Linked DNA regions of Homo sapiens: region 1 is linked to region 2. Evidence: promoter capture Hi-C in 16 types of primary human blood cells and fetal thymus (Javierre and others, 2016). All regions are on one chromosome and are shown on one strand. The core of a region is centred on a gene start or on the middle of the fragment in contact, and the rest is flanking DNA. Distances in the headings are between cores, read along the strand shown. Region 1 overlaps GRAMD1B (GRAM domain containing 1B). Region 2 holds the start of CLMP (CXADR like cell adhesion molecule).

Region 1 (7,011 bases), core at 1,506-4,005, 280 kb after region 2:
AGGAAGCACCTACTCAGTAGAGGTTGCCATATTCCGTCTTTCTAGCAGTAAAGCCGTGCCTTTCAGAGGGCAGAAGGACGGCTTCCTGGTGGTTCGTGGGTTTAGTCTGTACTTTCTGCACGTGTCCTGGGTACAGGGAGGGAGGAAGGGAGATCACTGGAATCATGAGAATTTGCCCAGCCCGCATTGCAGAGCTTCCTGGTCAAAGCCTAGTGAATTTCTCCCTTGTGGAGCGTGCTTTGGCTCAGATTCCTGTGGATTTTTCCCAGTCCTTCCAGTGCTGCTGGTATTAATGTGACCTTCCAGGATAAGCTCCTGCACTAGCACGCTGGTCTTAAACAAAACCAGGATTCTGCTTCAGCTGGTTTCCCTCAGGAATATCCCAGAATTTTACCAAGAGCTTCCCATCTTATTTAGGAACATGGTCTAGTGTTCCAAAATTTAATTTATACAGTGAATTTTATCTGAAGCTTGAATGTACAGCAGGAGGGATTAAAGTCATCCTAGTTCCATATCTAGCTGTCTTGAGCGAATGGCAAGCAGTTGCTTATACAAATTCCCTTCCTTGCAGTGTTAAGCCATCTTTCAGTCATCCGGTGCCCAGGCAAGGACATTCCAAATCCTAGTTTAGAGTTTCTTTTTCAGGGTTTCCAACAGACAGTTTCATCTGTTAGTGCCCTCTGCTGGACTTTCTCCAAGTTCTTTTCAACCTCCTGAATCCCAGAGTGGACGCAGACTGGATGTCTTCTCCCACTAAGGCCTTGACTAATCTGGAGTGGAGGGAGGTGTGCTTTTTGACCTTGTAGCATGCTGCACTCCTTTATAAACACCTTGGCCTGGAGGTTGCTCTTTTCATGGTCTCCGAAGACTGGTAGGTTTATTTAGGGAGCAGCGTGAGTTGCCTGGGGTCCAGGTGGCCTATATCATTGAAAAAGGCTCATATAAGAGAAGAATTGAAAGGGTGTGTGTGAGAGGGTGAGGCAGTGTCTGAATCTCTGGAAATTCTGCTCAACAATATTATTTCATGGGATTGAGTGGAGGAGTGGTTGGCAGCAATTCATCCATTTAACTTCTTTTTTTTTTTTTTGAGACGGAGTCTCTGTTATCTAGGCTGGAGGGCAGTGGCACGATCTTGGCTCACTGCAACCTCCACCTCCCAGGTTCAAGTGATTCTCCTGCCTCAACTTCCCGAGTAGCTGGGATTATAGGCGTGCACCATCACACCTGGCTAATTTTTGTATTTTTAGTAGAGACAGGGTTTCACCATGTTGGCCAGGCTGGTCTCGAACTCCTTACTTCAGGTGATCTACCCGCCTCGGCTTCCTAAAGTGCTGGGATTACAGGCGTGAGCCACCGCACCCGGCCCATTTAACTTCTTTAAGACTGTTGAAAAACAAGCTCAAATAATGGGAGGAAATAGGGCCAGGCCTCTGCCGAGGGTACTGGAGGAGGAAAGATCCTGTATATACCCTATGCCTGTTGCCACCATGGATTTATCTAGAGTCCCTCCAGCTCGATGTTCACCTCTCTGATGTGTTCCCTGGAGCTTTCCAACAGAGGTGTCCACCAGCTACACCTTGTTCATTTTTCTGCTGTTGTTGCATCACAGTCCACGGTGAATATTTGTATGTCTTAGACTGGGAGCTCTTTGCTGGAGAGACCTTGTCCTGATCATCTTTACAGTACTGTCTCCTAGCACAGTGCTGGGTACATGAGAGTGGTAAACGGAATTGAACTAGAATGCCTTTTCTTCTCATTTCTGCATGTCTTGAGTCTATCCAGTTTTAAGTGGCAGCACAAAAATCTTGTTGTTAAGACAGAATTGTCTTACTGGTCCCAGAAGGACATGACATTTCTGCATTCTGTGTTCCCATAGCACTTAATACATAGTATTGAGAGTTATCATTTTTCTGCTTTTAAATATAGTTATTTATATTGAATCTTACTTTCCTGATTCTAAGCACTTTGAGAGCAGGATCCTTGTTTGATTCACGTCTTTCTTTTCCTATAACCCATAAAATGATGCCTTGCATATAGGATAATGGCACCTGGCATTTACATAGCAGTTAAAATGTGGCAGATGCTCTTTTTCATACTTCACATTTCTTTCTCTTTCTTTCTTTCCTCCTTCTTTCTTTCTTTTTCTCTTTCTTTCCCTCTCCCTTGCCTCCCCTCCCCCCTCCCCCTCCTCTCCCCCTCCCATCCTCTCCCCTTCTCCCCCTTCCTTCCCTTCCCCCTCCCCTCTCCCTCCCCTCCCTTTCATTCTCCCTTCCCTCCCCTCTCCTCCCCTCCCCTCCCCTAGCACAGTGCTGGGTACTTGAGAGTGGTAAATGGAAAATGGAAATGAAAATGGAAACGGTAAGTGGTAAATGGAATTGTCACTGGACTAGCTGTCTTGAGCGAATGGCAAACAGTTGCTTATACAATTCCCTTCTTTGCAGTGTTAAGGCATCTTTCAGTCATCGGTGCCAAGGCAAAGTCATTCCAAATCCTAGTTTAGAGTTTCTTTTTCAGGGTTTCCAAAAGACAGTTTTATCTGTTAGTGGCCTCCCTTTCCCCTCCCTCCCGTCTCCCTTCCTTTCCCTCTCTCTCCCCTCCCCTCCCTTCCCTCCCTTCCCCTTTCCCTTCTCTCTCCCTTCCTTCTCCTTCTCCCTTCCTTTCCCTTCCTTCTCCCTTCCTTTCCTTTCCCTTTCTCTTCCCTTCCCTTTCCTTTTCCCTTTCCCTTTTCCTTCCCTTTTCTTCTCTTTTTTTGTTTTTCAGATGGAGTCTCACTCTGTCGCCCAGGCTGGAGTGTAGTGGCGCGATCTCGCTCACTGCAACCTCCGCCTCCCTGGTTCAAGTGATTCTCCTGACCTCAGTCTCCCAAGTAGCTGGGATTACAGGCGCTTGCCACCAAGACTGGCTAATTTTTTTTATTTGTTATTTTTTATTTTTTTTAGTAGAGATGAGGTTTCACCATGTTGGCCAGTCTCATCTCAAACTCCTGATCTCAGGTGATCCACCCGCCTCGCCTCCCAAAGTTCTGGGATTACAGGCGTGAACCACCACACCCAGCCTCTTCTCTTTTTCTTTCTTTGTCCTTCCTTCCTCCCACCACAGTCTTCCGAGTAGCTGGGACTCCAGGTGTACACCATCATGCCTGGCTAATTTTTTTTTTATAGAGATGGGGTCTCACCAGGTTGCCCAGGCTGATCAGGAACTCCTGGGTTTGAGCGATCCTCCGGTCTCAGCCTCCCAAAGTGCTGGGATTACAGGCATGAGCCAACCCGCCTGGTTCCATACTGTAGACTCTTAACCATTGTCTTGATGATGCTTCGTGTACACATAGCGTGATGTGAATACTTGTTGGATGCATGTAGTTTGATATTTATTTGAAACCAATACACAGTTTGAACATGACCCATTGCTGCCTTCTCTGCCATCTGAACTGTTTTCTAAGCCATGGGAAGGCAGGCCAGAGAGGGGCGCCAGAAAGGAGGCAGTTCCTGGTTCCGGTTCCTGAGGCTCCTTATTGGTTTTCCTTGTAGTTCTGGTTTGGAAGTCTACAGTGCCATCTAGTGGGTAAACTTGCAAATATCAGCTTAGAATTATTTTTCTGAAATCCTGGTAGATGGCCTTGAGTTCTGGGAGCCCCCTTTATTAGTTTAAAATTTTGATTGCCGGGGGAGGATAGGGGGACTAGGAAGAACCAGCCCATCCTGGCTCAGCGGGGTCAAGTTTGACCCCTGCTTTGAAGAGGCTGCAATGCTGATTGTGGTTGGCTTGGTTGAGCCCTGTTGACTGTTGTAAATGGTGTGTTCTCCCACAGTGTAGACCCTGCTTCTGGAGCTGTGTGGGCTTTGGAATTTGAGTTACAGTCATCTGTGTGCTGCCTACTGTGGAGTAACACTTGTCCCAGGTTGTATATAAGGGGATGCTTGATTCATATAACAGGCCAGTTCCAAGTAAGACATCTCATGAGTTAACGACATTATAGTGAAATTTGGTTATGTGGAGTTGGTAATAGGCAAATCCATCCGAGCTGGCAAAGTGAAAATGATGAGCAGCCACTGCATAGTGAACGAGCTGTAAAAACGTGCTGCATGGAAGGGAAGGAGAAAGGGATTCCGTACACAGTGAGTTCTGCCGAGCAGCCGGAGGCTTTGTGTATGGCGCTGTTCCGGTTTCTGGTGTGTGTGGTAACGTGTATGGTTTCTTGTGTCTGTGTTTGAAAATTGGATGTTAATTGCCTTTCAGGTCATTTACTTCTTGCTGGAAGAACGGAACATAAGAGCATGTGGTAACTGTGACCACAGAACTCATGTGCTTTGGCTGAGAGTGTACAGACACTGGAGCAAGCACTTGCTCGGCAAGATTGTCCAGTGTGCATTCTACTGGGCATCTAGGCTAAGGAATATACTCTATAGAGACCAATGCATCTTAGTGCAGCAGGCGATCCACCAGAACAAGGAGAAAATGTTGGTTATGTGGTAGCCTTGGTTATAGTGACATTTATGGTAATAGGGATTTATTATTAATAGAACCTATGTGAAGCAGGGGTTGGCCAACTTCCTGGTAATAAGGATTTATTATTAATAGAACCTATGTAAAACAGGGGTTGGCCAACTTTCTCTGTAAAGGGCCAGATGGTGAGCATTGTGGGCTTTGTGGGCCTATGGTGCCCACAACTCTGTCTTAGTTACTCAACTCTGCCTTAACCACTCAGCTCTGACATGGTAGCAGGAAAATAGCCAAAGATAATATGTAAATGTAGGCTTAGCTGTGTTCCAGTAAAACTTCATTTGTGGACACTAAATTTAAATTTCACATCATTTTCACCTGTCATGAAATATTCTTTTTTGGATTTTTTTTCTTCCAACCACTAAAAAGTACAAAAACCACCCTTAGCTCACGGGGCTGAGCAAAAACACGTGGCTCTAGATTGAGCCTAGAGTTTCTAGTTTGTGGACTCCTGATCAGATGGCTGGAGTATTTAATAATAATTAATAAAAATGATTTGTTCATCAGCTATGCCAGCAGTTAGTGTCATGAAGTGTCTGATAAGCTTTTCTTTCTCTGGAGTAAGAGGAAAGGCCATTCTTTCCCGTATTATTATAAGATATGACCTCCCAAAAGAACTCTGCCTGAACTAAAGCTGTGTAATTATCTCACTTACAGTGCCTTAAGGTGTGGAGAGTCCACCCTTTATTCCTTCTTCTATTTCTCATCCGCCTCAGCCTCCCCTGGAGGCAGAGTAGCAGACTAAGTGACCCCAGACCCCATCCAGCCTTTTGCCTTACTGGAGAAGCAGACTAGGTGACCCCTGGCCCCATCTAGTCTTCTGTCTTACCGGAATCTCCCTCCTCCCACACATCTCACACCCTCCCCACAACACCCCACCCAGTCCATGTCAGTGGCTTGAGAGTCTCCGGTGGGCTGAGGAGAATGGGATTATAATCCCATCAGAGAGAGGAAGAGGAGTGGGTAGAGAGAATGCTGGAGGCATTTGCTCTTTGAGGTTTATATAGCCAGGGAAGAGTGTGGTAGCAGGGCGAGATGGGCCTCTTCTGTTTTGGCTGGCAACAGACAGTCTGCAGGTGTGATGGCTGGGGATTTTATCAGCCTTGTGTCATTTCTCATATGGTCTAACTGTGCATTCTCTATGCTAGACTTACTTGGGGGAACTTGTATCTTTAAAATTTTGTAACCCCATGTCTTTGTCTAGTTGAAGTCTAAGTGACCTCCCCCAGGGTTGAGAAAGAAGCTGAAGTTAACGGTTGATATCCTATGTCTTTCCTCAGCAGCCAACAGAGCAGTCAGCAGAGCAGCCACGATGATGATTCTAGCAGGTTCCTGAGTCCTCGAGCGCGGGAAGAAAGGTAAGGTCCAACTCCGAGGGCGAGATGGGGGCAAAGAATAGAGGGGGTGGGGTGGAATGTTTGAGGAAGATTGTGCCTCTGCTCTGTGCAAAAAAATGTGGAAAACTGAAGAGGAATGGGAGCGCCTGAGACCTCTGTGCTTGACTGATTAGAAAGACAAAACTTTCACCCCATAAAGGAGAAGGAGCAACACAAAGGGGCTGGTTCCAGAGGCTTTTTGTGTTCAGCAAAAGAAGTCAACGTGTGGCAAACCAAATAGGTTGAAAAGACTTCATACTGAGCAGGGCTTGGTGGCTCACACCGGCAATCTCATTACTTTGGGAGGTCGAGGCGGGCGGATCACTTGAGATCTGGAGTTCGAGACTAGCCTGGTCAACACGGTAAAGCCTCATCTCTACTGAAACTACAAAAATTAGCCAGACATGGTGGCATGTGCCTCTAATTCCAGCTACTCCGAGGCTGAGGCAGGAGAATCGCTTGAACCTGGGAGGCAGAGGTTGCAGTGAGCCAAGATCGCGCTACTGCACTCCAGCCTGGGCAACAGAGGGAGACTTCGTCTAAAAACAACAACAACAACAACAACAAACTTTACAGTGGAGTTAGGACTTGAGTCATGCCCTATAGGTTGGGTACAATGTGGGTCAGGAGGTGAAGGGCATTTTGTGCCTGAGGAAGCTGCATAGCCCAGGATGTCAGGTGTTGGATGGTGTCAGGTGGCAGCAGCGTTAATGAAAAATGAGGTGGGATGTCTAGGATGCAATGAAAATATGGAGGCTCTTCAATGGTTGGTTGAGGATTGGAGATACAGCTAACTAAGCACTCAGTGTGAGGACCAGCCAGCACCTGCTTCATGCAGTGCCTGTGAATTGTAGACAGAGGTAAATTTGCTGTAGCAAGTTAAACTTCTTTGCCTACAGAAAGTTGATGGTATTGACGTTAACCAAAAGGAAGTCTCAGCTGGCCTACCGCAGGGGCTCTGCTTTTGGTCTAGCTCTGTTTATCGTTTTTATCAACAAGCTGGGTGAAAAAGCAGAAGGTACTTTTACCACATTTATCAACTTATGGTGGACCCTCTGCTGAGAGGGGGTAGAGAACACCAAGGATGATAGAATCAAGACTTAATATTATTTTGAGTAGAACAATGGGTGGAAAT
Region 2 (7,005 bases), core at 3,124-5,623:
GTAATAGGATCATGGAATTCGGGTTCCAGTCTTGGCCCTTCTACTGAGCTAGCTGTATAACCTTAGCCAAACCTCTCTGAACTTTGGTTTCTTCTTCATCTTAAAAGAAGGCATAGATTTAGATGAAAGATTAACTTGGGTTCCAAGGAAAAGTATCAGGAGGTCTCAATGAGGTCTTAAATATTATTGGCAAATTTGATGTATACATGTCTTTTTCTAAGAAGTTGGTTTTGTGATTTTCATCAGATTCTACAAAGGGTCTGGGACTCAAAATTTTAAGAACGATTGATTTAAACAGTCTCTTAGTTTTCCTCCAGTTCTGGCAATCTTTGACTCTACCTTTAAAAAATATCCATCATCACTAGATGCATTCATGAAATAATACTCATGTGTACCCTGCCCAGATAAGCACAAGACAAAAATAGGATATGACTAGATATAAGCCTACAGGGAATATATCGTTATTATGACCATCACCATTAAAGTGGGAAGATAAGGGTAGGACATGGAATCCTACTGAGACCTGTCGTTATCTTACAGACCAATGGACTATGCATTCATGCCTTCTTCAAACTCACTTTCTGCGAAACCAGGCTCCTTCCCCGTGCTGGCAGAAGTTTCAACAGGTAAGTCTATTTTTAATCTGGTACTAGCACACACGATATACAAAATAAATTTGTATGACAAATATATTATCTGGTCCCTATCCCTGTAATGTTCTTTGTGAATTTTTTAAAAATAGGACTGGTCCTATTTGCATTAATAGACAAGGAAGCTCAAAGCAAGCTGAATTAAAACTGGGCTCCTCACTATTGGGTTATCCCGCAGTCAAAGGTTAGTGATCTTCCAAATTTTTCACCTCTCTTGACCTTAAAGATTTCAAATACTTCAAAAATCCAATTATCTCTTAACAAATAGTTCACAAGTGTTTATGCAAGGTACTGAACATGGTTCACAGGTGAATGAGACACTGTCCCTGCCTTCATGGAGCTTCCATTCTAATGGGGTGTTAGATAAGCATTTGGAACACCATAATACAAAGTAGCATAAGAGGAAGGCTATTGGGATTCAAAGGTCAAATAGACTACTCAAAAGAAAAAAAGTATATTCAGCTGGTGAAACCATGGACAGGTGTATGGAGGAAGTGGCATTTGAGGTGAGACTTGGGGAATGAACATGATTTTGATCTGCAGTGGCAGGAAATAAGGAGGCAGTTTTGGTGGGGGGATTATCATAAACAAAAGCATAGAATTAGAAAGAAGCATGGGACATGTTTTGGGCGCATGAAGTAATTCAGGTTCCCTACCGAGTATCTGGGGGTGAGTAGAGGAAGAGCTGTGAATGACATTATGTAAAGTCTTTGATGTCAGAATGAAGTGTTTATACTCAACACTAAAAGCAATGAGACTACTAAAGGTTTTTGGAAGAAGGGAGAAAAACCATAGAATTATAGAAATTTTGAATTGAACATTCCCCTACCCCTATGCCCATTGTACAGACAAGGGAGTCAGAATAAGAACCAGAGAGGTTGCCAGACTCTTAAGTTCCAGCTTCGTGCATTCTACCAGCGGCCTCACAGGGTTACTCGGGTAGCAGTGTGCAGGATGGAGGAGAGAGGACAGGCAGGACAGGAACGTGGCAGCTACTATAGTCATCCAGGAGAGAAGTTAAGGTGGCACAATGAGGGCCGGAACGTTACGGGAGTGAGGCAGGATAGTGGGTCAGAAGAGGGGCTGAGCTGGAGCTCCTTCTCTCTTCTCCATGGGGCTCAGAGCACTTCTTATTCATTCACATCAGAGAGGTGGGTTATTTGACCTCACTCATTGGCAGGTCCAGGAAACATGGAGTCAACTGTCCCACAGTTCAGACGATGAACACTCTCCACCCTCCCAGCCCCTGTTTGATACTGTGCAATCTTTAGAAAAAGAGAAGCCAAAAACCATGCCAGCCAGGATCAGAAGCAGCCCTGGAACTGCCCCTTTAAAGGACCAGTATGATGATTTCAGGATTCAGACAACTTGCTGTGTTTTCTTTCTGCCTTTGCTGAACAGTGTCCGAGCATTCCATGGCTCCAAACCATTTCTTAAATAAGGACAGGTGCTCAAAAAGTGCAAATTTTTTTTCCCTTTCCCAGACCTCTCTCCTATAGGTCACGCTGACATCTTACATTCCATGAAGAGGATGGTGAGATCGAAGAGCCAGCCAGGTGTGGCAGAGGGTAAGCGCTTTGAGAATCTCTGCAGCCACAGGAGGCTGTAAAGCAATGCGCTTTAGCAAGCTTTCTCTGGAAGCAGGCAGCCTGCGCTCAAATTCCGTCTCCCCTAATTATGAGTGTGTGGCCTTGAGCAAGTTACCTGGCCTTTTTACAGCTTGGTTTCTTCATCTGTAAAATGAGGGTAGCCAACAAGGATGGCTGGGCAGCCAATAGGCTTGTTGTGAAGAACAAACGAATTACCAAGATAGTACATATAAAGTGTTCATATAACAAGGACTATTAGCTGTTTTTAATAAGAGAGCCCTGAAGTTTCATTCTACTAAATATCTGGTGATTGGTAACCTAGTGGTAGAGTCCAGTAAAGGGAATCAAGGTGCCATCCAGCTGCGCCAGATGTGCACAGGAACAGTATTGCAGTATTTGGTTAAGTCTAAAAGAGTTTAGAAAATAACCCCTCCCCACCTGCCTTACTTGAGCAATAGTTTGGCTTAGCCCACCTCTTTCATTTCTCTAACTTAAGTGATTATCAGCCTGAGGCTGGCCAAGATGGGTATGCATACAGTATAATTGGTTTGTAAAGTTTCAAAAAAGACAGAGAACTCTAACCACGTATTTCAGGATTTGGTGGTTCTTCTAGACACCAGCCTCCTTCAAACCTCTGGTGTTGTAGGCTAGAAGGGACTTAGGAACCATCTAGTATTCTCTTTCCAGAGCTAAAGACGTGGAAGCCCTGGATAAGGAGTAAGTTGTCTGAGGCCACCCAGCTAGTCAGTTCAAAACCAGGACCAGCTCTCCCGTGGCCTGGTGTTCAGGGTAGTGCTCACTCTTGACCACTGGCTGGCTCTTTGATTTTCTGATCTCCAGCTAACTGTGGGGCCTGTCTGCAGTGGATCCCATGCTTCAGGGTGCATAGTGACGTGCCCTTGGCTCTCCCTGACTGCCTTTCCTGCCCTGGCTCCTCAGACATTTCCAGTCACTCCGGTGGGCTCCTACCACCCACATCCCTGATGTCCTCTCCTGCAAACCTGCCTCTGCCTCAGGGCCTCTGAGGCCCCAAGAGTCCTGCCTGGGGGACCCCAGGAAGGGACGCTCAGGAGGACTCTTCCCTTTGCTCTGGAGCCTGTTTCAGGAAAAAGTGGTGCTTGCTCTATTTCCCTCTGTTCTGGTTCCTCTGCTGCGTTTTTTCCAAGTCTTCTTCACTCTCTGTGCTCGGACTCCCCCAGCCTTGCTCTTCTGTTTTACATTCCTGTTCTCCTCTTTTTCTCTCTCCTTCCCAACCCTTCCCCTTTCCCCTTTTCCTTCCTTCCCTGTGTGACTTGGGGCATTTGCATCTTCCTGGTGCTCCTTGGGCCCTGCCCTTTTTCCCTCTCCCCTTTCCTCTCCAACCCTGCCTATCCCCCACTCTGCTCACCCTTTAACACATCTGTTTCTAATCTGAGCCTCGGAGGCGCCTGTTTGAAACAACAACAAAAAACCCCCACCCTCAGGAACCTGGCACAAAAATTCCTGGATAAACCTTCCCTCCACCAATTCTCCACTTTTCCCAGATACACCAGAAACTAAACACCGCCCTAAAGAGGACCCTGCACATCAAACGGTTCCCCAAGCCTGTTCAAGGGCCCAGATGTGCGAGACAATCTCGATGGCCGACTGGGCGGCCCTCGGTTGCCAGATGTGCTCCTCCGTGGCCAGGAGGCAGGGACTGAAAAGCCGGCTGACTCCAGGGGCTGCAGGGACACCCGGTCAGAACCGGCGTCTTTCCCGGACGCAGGGCTGCGTTTGCCCACGGCCATCCAAACTCCCGCCCTCCCAGAGGCACTCACCTAGCAAGAGGAGAAGGAGGAGGGACATCCCGATCCCCGGACGCGGGCGCTTCCCCGCTCAGCTGCTGCTTGGCTCCGGGGCGGCCGGGCGCCTCCGACGGACCTCGGGCGAGCTGGGCGCGGCGCCTCGGGGTGCGCGCGAGGTGGCTGCAGCCATGTGCCGGGCGGGAGCCGGCCCCGCGCCCCGTGCCCCTGGGGGCAGATGGGCTCCCGGCGCTCGCCCCACCAGCTGGCGCCCGGACGGGAGCCGGGACCAGGGTCAGGGAGGAAAACGCGAGGCGAAAAGGCGCTACCGCTTCGTGGAACACTTTTCCCTGTTTGGAAAGAAAAAGGAGTGAAGAAAGAGAGAGGGAAAAAAAAAATTCAGCTGGAACCACATGGTTGCCTCCTACCGCAGCCCCTCCCTCTCTCTCTCGCTGTTCCCTCCTTCCCTCCCTCCCTCCCGCGCGGCGTTTGGGGTTTGCGGTGGGGGCCGGTCGGGGAGAAGCGTGAGCTGGCCGGGCAGGGAGGGCCGGGGGAGACCTGGGGCCGTGCAGAGGCGGGTGGGTTGAGAGGCGCCGGGCGTAGGATTGATTCTTTGCAGGAGGCATTGGTGACACCTCGGCTGAGAGCCCATGGACGAGGCCTTGTCCGTTCCTAGAGCTCTGCTCTCACTTGGTCCTTCTCTCCACTTCTCTCTCGCTTCTTTTTTACTCTCGTTTCTCTCTGCTTCCACGTCTCTCACAAATCTGGCGTTTCTCTCTTCCATCTCTTCCTCTCTAGGTCTCCTTGTTCGCATTCTTGCCTCTCCCTCCTCGTCTCCTCATGCCCTCTCCCCTCTGTCCTCTGCGCTCTTCTCGCCTCTCCTCTCCCTCCCCGTCTGGTTCTGTTAGTGTAAAGCCACCAGACTGACCAGGCCGACGGCGGGGCGCGGAAGTGGGTGCGAAGGCAGCCAGCGGCCGGCCGACCAGGGCTCTCCCCACCGACTGCCTGCTTTGGCACCCGGCTACCCCCCTTGGCCTGGCTTTCCTGGGGCCTTTCGCGTTCGCTCGCTTTCTACTGTCGGTATTTGCAGCAGCGCTCCCTCAGGTCCCGAGCAGAGCTAAGCCAGCCAGCACCCAGGGGAAGGGGACCCACAGCCCCGTGGAAAGAGGTCTATCGAGATGCTTTGCAGCAAAGTGCTCTGCACGTGGCCCTGGCCAAAATGTGCACCACCCCCTTTCAGAAAGAACATAAGGCAGAGGGAGCAGAATCCCCCTGGTGCCAGGGCCTGCGCGCCCGGGCTCCGGGAACCCGGCCCAGGAGGCTCGCGGAGGGCAGGAGGCTGGCGGCCGGACGGGGGCGGACGGTGGGTTCCGCGGAGCCGAGCAGCCCCGCCCCAGGGTCGGCCCCTGGGAGTCTGCCCTTCACTACCCTGCTGCTCAGCGGCAGCGGGAGGCAGCGAGACTAAGAAAGGGCAGTGAGGGTGGCGCTCAGACCTCAGCTGCCTGGACCTCCTGCCCTGACCTTGTGCCCAGGGCCTCTCAGAAACTCTGGTCCCAGTCTCTGAATGTCCCTGGAGGGCTTCTCCCTCAGCTGCCCAGAGGCATGATGACGCAATCGCTCACCTTCGGCCTCGCCAGAGCCCAGGTTGGAAGCCGGGGCCAGCGCTCTTGAGAAGAAAGATGAACCCCGCCGGGGCCGGTGGGCTGCCGAGTCACACATTTGCAATGAAATGCAAATGTGTAATGAAAACCCGTCCCATTTCGCAGACTAGGAAAGCAAAGGCCTGGAGAGGTTATGGAAGTTTCACAAGGTCACTCAGAGGACTTGCAAAAGCTGGGGCTGTTCCTAGGGCTCGCGGATCAGCTGGAGCATTGCTTTAGAATTGCAGCATTTCTCCACTCACTCCCTCACCCCTTCGATACCGATGTGTTAGCATCCACACTATGCCAGGTGCTTTTTTAGGTGTGAGGACACAAAGTGAGTAGAACTTGGAAGTTGACATTTAAAAAAACCTGGGAGGAGTATGTCATGAACACCAAGTATGGACCCAGAATCATATTATATTATTACGTGGTTTTTATTGGGTCATATTATTGACCTTTTTATATCATTCTTATTATACTGCTAAGGGATAGTCACTGAAAAAAAAATCACCATCCCTTAGCATGAATAGGAAGACAAGGAAACTATAACTTAGAGAGGCCTAAATATCTTGCCCCAGATCACAATAGAATTAAAATGCTTCTATTCCAATATTAATATTCTAATATTTAAAAATATTATTTTTTATATTGAGAAGTGTTTAAAAGGTCTCTTTGACTCCGAAGTAACTTTATTTTCCATTTCATACTAATTGTCTAATAGGGGAAATAGATACATTCACAACTATAATTTGTAAATGAATATGTTGAAAAAACCGTCTTTTTTCTTTTCTTTTTTTTTTTTTGAGACAGAGCCTCACTCTGTCACCCAGGTTCACTGCAACCTCTGCCTCCTGGGTGCAAGTGATCCTCCCACCTCATCCTTCCAAGTAGCTGAGACTACAGGCTCACACCATCATGCCCGGCTAATATTTGTATTTTTGGTAGAGATTGGGTTTCGCTGTATTGCCCAGGCTGGTCTCAAACTCCTGGGCTCAAGCAGTTCACCTGACTCGAACTCCCAAAATGCTGGGATTACGGGCATGAGCCACCATCCCCAGCCAAAAACAGTAATTCTTAAAGGCTGGAGAAGGTGGCAGAAAAACTACATACAGAAGGTAACTCTTTTGTTGTTTCTGCTTTATAATTAAAAAAAAAATTGACATTTTGGGCTTACAAAAAAGTTGAAAATAGTACAAAAATTCTTCACCCAGATTCCCCCTTTTTATTTCTCTCTAGAGGTGGGGTTTTTGCACAAGTTTTAAAGCCTCACCTCCACCCCACCGCTGCTGGTGGCCTTTCTCAAGAACTTAGTAATGCCAGTGCTGTTTATTGCTTGAGGGCTGGTGTGCGCATGAAGACA

What was found. The method cuts DNA at HindIII sites, captures the fragments that hold promoters and counts their contacts. A CHiCAGO score of 5 or more calls a contact.
Region 1: a fragment that was not itself captured here is called in contact with the fragment with the promoter of CLMP in region 2 in 1 of 17 cell types (M0 macrophages); the score reaches 6.9 in M0 macrophages.

What each region holds. Positions count from the first base shown.
Region 1 is chr11:123,475,036-123,482,046 of GRCh38, forward strand. GRAMD1B (GRAM domain containing 1B) reads left to right here. Exons shown (of 20, transcript NM_001387025.1): 2 at 5,781-5,858. Among named protein-coding and RNA genes, the nearest start is that of GRAMD1B, 48 kb to the left of the region's middle. RefSeq lists enhancers at 3,386-3,680, 5,336-5,385, 5,426-5,545 and a silencer at 6,783-6,872. The HindIII fragment of the contact is 4,574 bases long and covers 469-5,042 here.
Region 2 is chr11:123,190,875-123,197,879 of GRCh38, forward strand. It overlaps CLMP (CXADR like cell adhesion molecule), which reads right to left and starts at 4,374. Exons shown (of 7, transcript NM_024769.5): 1 at 4,039-4,374. The coding sequence starts at 4,066. The HindIII fragment of the contact is 6,233 bases long and covers 2,277-7,005 here.